Regions from separate parts of the Homo sapiens genome. Here region 2 is linked to region 1. The links are contacts of gene promoters, found by promoter capture Hi-C in human tissues and cell types (Jung and others, 2019). All regions are on one chromosome and are shown on one strand. Each heading gives the region's core, a stretch centred on a gene start or on the middle of the fragment in contact. The rest is flanking DNA. Distances are from core to core; before and after follow the strand shown. Region 1 holds the start of MBP (myelin basic protein). Region 2 has its middle 240 kb from the start of GALR1.

Region 1 (3,926 bases), core at 1,278-3,777:
ACAAAAATTAGCTGGGCATGGTAGCGGTTGCCTATAATCCCAGCTACTCGGGAGGCTGAGGCAGGAGAATTGCCTGAACCTGGGAGGCGGAGGTTGCAGTGAGCTGAGATTGCACCATTGCACTCCAGCCTGGGCCACAGAGCAAGACTCCATCTAAAAAAAAAAAAGAAAGAAAAAAAAAAGTTCAGTCCTTTCCTAAGCAAAACATCATAACAAAGACAAATCTGTTGATGAGGAAACTAAAGAAAACTCAAAGTTCGTGCAGTCTGAGGTCTGTTGGAAACTATTTAGATTCATTTACTTCCTTTAGCTTGGGTAATTTGGAGTTTAATTCAGCTTAACAAAAATTTATTGAGTGTATTTCATGCACAAAACATTTTGCTATTTGCTGCCATATGAGATGATGGATAGGTCAAACTTTCTGCTCTCCGGTACCTTGTGAAAGATGGGGGTAACTGCAATGTGATTTTCTTAGAAATGTCAAAGACACAATGAGGCTTTGATGGGTTACTTGTCAAAAGATGCCTTTCAATTTTATTCAGCACAACGAATCTCTGTCACTTTGCTGAGGGCTACATGGACATCTTCATGTGAAAGTTTGTCTCTCGACAGTGAAATGCCAGCCTCTGTTTCTTCCATCCACTGTCCTCAACCTGGGGTCCTTTTTCTAACCGGGAGGGCATGAAAGCCCCCAAGATAAGACCAGTTGATCCAAATGTGAATCCACTGTTTTATTAAATAGTATTATCTACATGTTTTCTTTGAAGAATCCATGACTTTTCTAAACTGCCTGGCTGCCCATCTGTGTGGACACTCTATCCCAACAAAATATGCACGGTGAAATTTCATAAATACTTTAAAAAGACTTTTAACTGGAACTTGTGGAGCCTGACATTTGTAGGGCTGACTGTTGGCATATGTAGTGTTTCAGGAAACCACTGTAACACCAGCAGAAGGAGCACCAAACAGAAGGCCGCGTGTGCAGCTGTCACTGTGGCCTGAGGGACGCTCCAGAGCCCAGCACACAGGGACATCTGCAGGCAGGAAGGTGGCCCCGCCCTGTGGAGTCACTGAGATAAAGCCAAGAGATATTTTGGGGAGGAAAAGCTGTTTCTGATGCTAAAGCAGGTATCTAAAATGGGACCCATTTTAGTGTTCCAGCTTCCCCAGCCTGAGCTTTGAGTGACTTGAGCTGGGACCTGGGTGCACCCGGGTTCATTGTCACCACCCGTGCTCCTAGGGCAGCTGTCCAGCCTCCCACGCCCACTCCGCTCATCCTTGACTTAAAGTGAGGTTGTGGGGCAGAAAAATTGGAGAAACACACTATCTTTGGCACCCTTTTCCCTCCTCACCTTCAGCCTCAAAGTCTCAGAACCCTCCTGCCCCCTCCACTTGAAAATCTCTCCTGAGGAAACGACCAGACTGAATGCTTTTGCGTCGTTGTGGAAGTATTTCTCTTCCAGTTGCCAGCATTTGAAGACAGTTGCTAAATCCTCCGGGGCTTTGGGGGAGGCTGGTTTTAGGCCGAAACCCCGACCCCGTGCTGAAGTCTGAGTCCCGCCTCCCAGCGCGGGCCGGGACAGCGCTCACCCCTCTCCCTCACTTCCTAACAAACTGTGTGGGTCCCAGGCTGCTCCAGGTCCCCTGGAAGCTCCAGATCCAGATCCCTGACTGGGGGTGTAGGTCAGGAGGAACGCGGGGCCTCATTCTGGGACTCCCCCAACCTCCTCCTCTTCCACCATCAGGAGGCTGAGAATCCAGAGAAAGATCTCTGACCACTAAATCTGTGTGCAGGTGAGTCACGGCTAAACAGCAGGCTTTTTCTTTTTAACAAGACAGCGACGAAGACCACGATGTCTCTGGGCTGCAGGACCAGGCTGCTTCCTCGCACCTGCGCGTGTTTTGCTGTCTTTTCCGCGCACGCTTCCTGCGCCGGTCCTGCAGGAGAAGGTGCGCCCCTAGCTCCCAGCTCCCAGCTCCCAGCTCCCAGAGGAGCACCTGCCAGCCGGACATGGGCCTGGCCTGGGCTCCAGGGGAGGGAGGGAGTGCCTTGGGAGGACCTGCCGGCTCCTTTCGCCTCCAGGCCGGGCTGACTCTCCTCCTGCAGGGCCGGGGCTGCGCCAAGTCTATCGGCAGTTTCTGGGGTTTCCAGCCCCTGAGGACGCGGGGAGATGCGGCCTGGCACCCCTCCCGCGAGGTCGAGGTCGGGGTCGGGGTGGGTTCGGAGGCCAAGCCTCCGAACGGGAAGGGTCGACGGGCCGCAGTTCGGAGCCCAGTTCGGCAGCGGGCGAGGCTCCAGGCCGCCCCTCCGAGGTCTGACCCTGCGCGTGGGCCCCGTGCGCCCCCCAAGTTCCGCGTGGGCAGAGCGGGCCCGGGGTCCTCCGAGCTCCCGGGGCGGCGCCGGCGGCCGCGTCCAGGTGGGGCGGGCCCGGCGGGATCGGCCTGTGTTTACCTGGCTCGCAGGAAGCCCGGGGAGGCGGGGCCGGGGAGCTGGGTGCGCGCCCGTCCCTCGGAGCCGCCGCCGTCAGTCACCGCCGCCGCGCGCCAGAGAGAAGCAGCCTCCGGCCCCGGCGGCCCCTGTCTCCCGACCCCGGAAGGCGAAGCAGGCTGCCCGGGGACCCCGCGCGTGGGCGCTTGAAGCCGAGACCAGCCTGCCCGGGCCTGGGCAGGCGGAGCAGGGCCTTGGACCCCGCGGCGCCCCTCGGCCTCGGAGCAACGAGCGCAGCGCCGGTGGGTGACCCTCGGGGACGGGCGGGCTGCTCTGCCGCCTTTGTCTCTGTGCCCCTCCGAGTGGGGACCGCGGAGACCTGGGCGGGACCCCGGACCGGAGCCCCGCGGGAGCCGGGGGCGCAAGATCGGGGACAGGAGCTATCCCGACGCCCGGACTCCGGGTCCCTTTCTTGGCTGGGGACGCGCAGGGAGAACCTAGGCAGCGGAGCAGGTGGCCGAGCAGGTAGCAGCCGGCGGCCTCCCTGACCCGAACCCAAGTCGCCGCCCCCGATCCCCATTGCGCGGGGGCTGGGCGCGGGTGTAGACGCGGGTTTACAGCGCCGGGGCCCGACCCTGACAGGTGTCCAGGGGTGGACTCCAGCCAGGCCCGGCGGTCCCAGGGTCGCTGAAACCGCTCGGCCTCGGGCCGTGGGGCTGAGGGGAGGAGTCTAGGGTGGGAGGGGACGGCGGTCAAAAGCGGCCACTCTGGGCGGGTGTGGAGAGGGTGCTGGCTGCCAGGGCGGGCTGGGGGGTCCTCCCGGCTCGCGGCGCCTGCTAATCACACCCCGGGGGCCCCGCGCGCGATCGCGCTCCTGCCCCTGCCCCCGGGGCGAAGCGCAGTCTCCCTCTGAGCTCCAGGGGCGGCCAGGAGAGCCCGGGTCCGGGCTTCCGCCTTCGCAGGGCCTGTCTCGGGCTCTTCGGCCGGGCCCGTCGCTGCGCCCACCTGGGCCCACGTGCGCCGCCCGCAGCCGCCCGCCGGCCCGCCCGGGTCTTCCCGGCAGTCCCCTCCTGGGCCCCACTGCCTGTCCTGGGCCGGGTGCGTCCGTTTTCCGTGGCCCCCGAGGCCGGGGTGTGTGACCTGCGGTCATTTGCCGCCACACTAGATTTTCCGGGGTGCTGGGGGCAGCGCCTTGTGTCCTTTCGCGTCCACCTGAGCCCCCCCGTTTTGGAAGGTGGAGTGGGGCTTGGGAAAAGGTTCAAGCGTCTTTGGGGACCCCCGTGCGACTCTGGCTGGAAACAGGCGAGCTCTGGTTCCTTGTTCCGTTTTCCAATTGCAACAACGTGAGAATCAACAAGTGCTCGGTTTCTCTGCGCGTGGGTGAGGGGCGCGTGGGCTCGCTGGGTGCTGGGGTGGGGAGGGGGCGTGGACTTCGTTCCGGGGAGGCCTCTGCCTCGTCTGACCACAGAACGCCCCGCCTGGAAAGAGAGTTTTTCAG
Region 2 (5,212 bases), core at 110-2,609, 360 kb before region 1:
GTGTGAGATGGTATTTCACCATGGTTTTGATTTGCATTTCTCTAATGATTAGTGATGTGGAGCATTTTTGCATATGCTTGTTGGCCATCTGTATGTCTTCTTTTGAGAAGTGTCTGTTCATGACCTTTGCCCACTTTGTAATGGGGTTAGTTTTTGCTTGTAAATTTGTTTAAGTTCCTTATAGATTCTGGATATTAGACCTTTGTCATGTGCATAGTTTGCAAATATTTTCTACCATCCTCTAAGTCGTCTGTTTACTCTGTTGATAGTTTCTTTTGCTGTGCAGAAGCTCCTTAATTAGATCCCAGGTGTCAATTTTTTGTTGTTGCAATTGCTTTTTGCATCTTTGTCATAAAGTCTTTGCCAGGTCCTGTGATCAAGGAGTAATTCTGTTCAGGCTTTGCAATAACCTTCTCAAGAAATATGAAAGTCTTTCAAAGTCCCATGTGCAAATTTAAGAAATCCCATACAATTTTTATGCATTCAAATGGTTTATGTATTTATACCTACATATACTTTTCTAGGCAGTATTTGAGTTTTGAAGAGCGCTGTAAGAAAGGAAGGAAGGACTAATAGCCTAACATTGGTCAGGTTGTTTATCAGAATATAAATTTGCCTTCATGCAATACCCTGTTCTGTAGTTTAAATTTCATTTCCCATGTGTATGGTCACTTCCATCTGGCAACCAGCGGCTGAATGAAAGGAACTGAAAGTTACTGTCAAGTCTGTAAGCGCATATCACACAAAGACTGAGAAACCAGAAACCTACAAACGGCTGTGTGACCTTGTGAAGATCATCCAGTCTTTCTGAATATCAGGTTCTTCACCTGTAAAATGAAGTCAAGCTTCATTTGCTTCATGATGATGAGGTAAAAACCTATATAGTCTTTTATTTCACCCCCAAATAAAAGAGAATTATGAACAAAACATATAAACACCATCTTCAATGACACAAGGAGACGTTTGTAGCCCAGTACCAAATTTATGAAGCAAAAAAAGTTGAAACAGTAAATGAGTTAGCAGAACAAAGGAAGATGAAGCTTGAATGTCTCCGAAACCATTAGGAGGAAGCCAGCTCACCTGGAGAACAGGAAAATAGCCAAGTAACTAGAGCAGCCAGTTTCTGCTGAAGGGGTGGTTAGAACCACCCCTCCCCAACCCTCAGGAGACGAAAAGTATAGTTTCTAAAGGCACTCAATCAGAAATCCTCCATATCTAGACACTGAGGAAGGCAAAAGAACATTACAAACACACACCAAGAGGACATTACAAACACACACACAATCAGCAAGTGAAAAACCAAGCAGCTGGAGATGAAAGATTGGAACAGGGACCTCCCTGTCTCCCCAACCAAAGCTGCCAGGCTCTCCCCAAAGCAAGAAACTGGAAGCTCTTTCTCAGAGATACCCAACCACCACCAAAAGGCAAACATACCCAAGCATTTGGGTGACTCAAGTAAAAAGAGACACATGACATTGAAGGTTGCAGGCCACGTGCTCACCCCTGCAGACGGCGTTCCTAATGGCTTTGCATTGCTTCCTAAGGAAGAACACTCAGATGCCAGGGTCCAATAGCAGAGACAGAAGCCACACCAAATAGCCAGAAAAACGAAGGAACTACTAAGAAACAGAGAAAATAAAACATTTTCTCTAAAAGTTAAAGGCATTGTGAAGACAACAGCCATCAACAAAACAAGGGCTTCAGTTCTACAACCGCGTGGAACTGAATTCTGCCAGCATCCTGAGTGGATTCTTTCTCAGAACCTTTGGAGAGGAGCATCGCCCAGCATTCTGACCTGCAGAACTCTCAGGTGAACATAACCCTGTGTTTTTTAAGCTGTTCAGTTTGTGGTAATTTGTTCCTGTAGCAGTAGAAAACTAACATGATGCCCATTTAATAAGCAAAATTTGTTGTTCTTCACAATTCAAAATTTAGAGATTGAAAATTCTCTAAAATTGCTGCCTACTTGGCTGCGTTTTCTATCAAGAACACTTATTAGAATGAATGACTCAGGCTCATAGTCATTGGCAACGTTTATTTCCTAGCAGTGACACCAGGACATGTTTAGTGTATGCCCAGCATGATTGACTCATTACCCACATACTGCTGGTCTTCTCTTTTCAGCTGTTCATTGTTTTCCTGTTTTCACAGTTCTTAGCATCATGTCTCACTCTCAGCAAAGTGACTGGCACTGAGCCTGTTTTGCTATTAGGATAAATTGAAGGATGCAGGTTTCTAAAATTCATAACTTTGCGTTACACAAACTCAGTATTTTGCATAGCTCCTCCTTGACTTACATATCTCTCACTGCAGTGATTGAAGGCCGGTGTTGTCCTGAGGTTAAAATGATACCTGCCTTCATGGGCCTTCCCTCCAGCCAGTCAATATGAGCAATCTGTTCATTATTTATTTCAAAGCAATGTAACTGATGACATGGAACTGTCCCATCTTCATGTGCGGAATACTCTACAGCTGGTATTCATCACCAGAAATTCTTATCTTCCTTATGCAGGTCTTAGTTAAATCACACTTTAAAAGAAGCGTGGCTGATCTGAATTACTCTGAGATAAATCTTGAGCTGCTTTTTTCATGTGAATGTACAAATGAGTGAATGATGGAATGCACATGAAAAATCGCACCTGGAATTTAAGGATGTAGAGCTGCTAAATAAATTACTCTGAACTCAGTACTCTGAACTAAGCCACCGTTTTTCATGCTTTTTTCATGAATGTAAATTTTCCAACTTTCATTCATGTGTTTATCTGGATCTTCTGCTGTGGATCTTACAAGGCTGAAAGCATGGCATTGGCTGGGCTACATTATCATCTGAAGGCTCAGCTGGGGAAGAATCCATTTCTGAGCTCATTTAGGTTGCTGGCAGAATACCTTTCCTTATGGTTGTACAACCAAGGGCTATTAGGAGGGTGCCACCCTTGGGCCCTAGAGACTCCCCAGAGCTCACAGCCACCAGCCACGTGCACTTTTCCAGCATGACTTTCAGCTCCATGCAGCCCACAGATGGCTCCAGCTCATCTGCCCTCACAGAGTCTTATTTAATGTGATATACGCACAGGAGGGACAGCCTATCACCCCTGTCAGGTTACAGAACCTAAGCATGTGGGCAAACCATCACCTTTGTTGTCATCGATTTGTAAGTAGCAAGTCACCAACCTGGCTCACACTCCAGGGCAGGGAGTAGGACAGAGGTGTAGATGGTAGTAGGTAGGATGACCAGGAGACACCTTAGGGTGTGTCCACATCCGTGACTTCTCTCTTGGCTTGCTCAGGCTCAGTGGGGAATTAGCAGCATTCAAACTTGTTAAGCAGTGAGGAAATGGACTGCTGCAAAGGGGAGGAGCCAAACAGGACAGGCCCTGGAGAGGTATGCGGATTTCCTTGGAGGATCACTGGGTATTGTTCATGAGATGTACAAAACCTGTAAGTTTCAAGATGCTAATAGGAAAAGGATCTGAGGGAGGGCAACATTGAAGATAAAACAGAGGGGCATGGTTTCCTCAAAGCCGTGAGGGTCTGGCCCCCAGCAGAAGTGAATGCGCTGTCTTCCCACAGGTGTGTGGGGTGGGGAGGGGCCAGGTGTCCCATTTTCCCATTTAACCAGGGAGCAGGAAGGCGGTGTGGGCACAGATGCCAGGGAAGGATGGATTTGGAGCCAGCAAGTTGAGGGTTTCTTTGCCTGACAGCTTCTATTTTCTCTGTAAAGCAAGGCCCAAGGCCATCTGGGGAGAAGGAAGGGTGTGTGTGCTGAGGAACTGGAGGTTTAACAAGGTCCAGAAGGTTTAAAACAGTCCTTATAGACAACCCTTCAGTGAGTGAGCATTAGAATTATAGTATGATTATTAGGTAGCGTTGAGCACACAGTTGGAGTCGGTGACTATAAAGAGACACGACCCACCCCCATTTCTAGAGCTGTGCTGGAGTTGGCTGCTGCAGGCTCACAGTTGTACTATTCTCTGAAGAATTGCCTGCAGCTACTAGGAGCTACCTCACCATGACATGCCTAGAAGTGTACTCTCCTGCAACCTGGGGGAGTCCACAGCCAACCACGACTAACACAGGGATGCAGCAGCAGACCCAGGCACGCCTCGGAGCTCCCCCTGGAATCACACTGAGGCTAGCCTTCAGTTATTGCCAGGCTTTGTTTAGTGTCTCCTGGCTCTGCTTGTTTTGCCTGAGAATACTTCCATGTTAGATCACCTGCAAAGACCTCTGTCCAGGATCTGCTTCTAGGGAACCCAACCTAAGCAAGTAGCCAAGAACCCCAGTGGTACCAGTAACCTCAAGTGCAGCAAGTGATTTGTTTCATCTAAAGTTAAAGTTGTGCCAAAAGGCTATGAAAATATTGGGTGATAATGTTTTTGTTTTTATGAGAGAGAGTTTCACTCTTGTCGCCCAGGCTGGAGTCCAATGGCGTGGTCTCAGCTCACTGCAACCTCTGCCTCCTGGGTTCAAGCGATTCTCCTGCCTCAGCCTCCCAAGTAGCTGGGATTACAGGCATGCACCACCATGCCCGGCTAAATTTTTTATTTTTTAGTAGAGAAGGGGTTTCACCATGTTAGCCAGGCTGGTCTCAAACTACTGACCTCAGGTGATCTGCCCACCTTGGCATCCCAAAGTGCTGGGATAAATGTTTATATTGTTAAAAATAAGGATGAATTTAAGTTTACATAAAGCTGACTTGGCTGGATAGAGTTCCTAATTTTGCAGTCTACTTTAATAGTCAAGCTGAATGTTAACATTTTAGAGGAAACCAAGTATTTGACTGCTACAGTCTTACTTCAGAGCCTCATCTCCTTCTGGACAGTGCTTGTGTGGTGTTCACCATGGATTGGATGAAAGGTCTCCAGATTCCAATCTTGCCTTCTTCCAGTCCCTTTCTCCTGCTGCTACCAGAAATATGCCCCTAATACGCAAATATTTTCACATTACTTTCCTACTGAAAACCTTTCAATAACCCCAATTGCCTACAGAGTGCATTCTAACTTAGTCATAACTGACCAGTTCAATTGTCTGAAGCCTGCCTCTTGTCAAGCTTGATTTCTTCACTCTCTCCTCACCCTCTGTACCGTATTTATGTGAGTTATTTACACATCTCTAAGTATCTTGCCCCTTTTCACACATCTAGGTTATCTGTGAACCTGACAACTCACTGAGGGTGTAGTGCTTCTTTTCTCCCTGTATAAAATGGCCTTCT

Evidence for each region. Contacts are between HindIII fragments. The study calls those that stand out against the background at their distance.
Region 2: a contact is called between a fragment that was not itself captured here and the fragment with the promoter of MBP in region 1, in 2 of the 25 tissues and cell types used here (heart left ventricle and lymphoblastoid cells).

Annotation. Positions count from the first base shown.
Region 1 is chr18:77,131,384-77,135,309 of GRCh38, reverse strand. It overlaps MBP (myelin basic protein), which reads left to right and starts at 2,527. Exons shown (of 9, transcript NM_001025101.2): 1 at 2,527-2,730. RefSeq lists a silencer at 2,263-3,562. The HindIII fragment of the contact is 18,599 bases long and covers 1-3,926 here.
Region 2 is chr18:77,484,047-77,489,258 of GRCh38, reverse strand. No RefSeq gene overlaps it. Among named protein-coding and RNA genes, the nearest start is that of GALR1, 240 kb to the right of the region's middle. The HindIII fragment of the contact is 3,373 bases long and covers 1-3,045 here.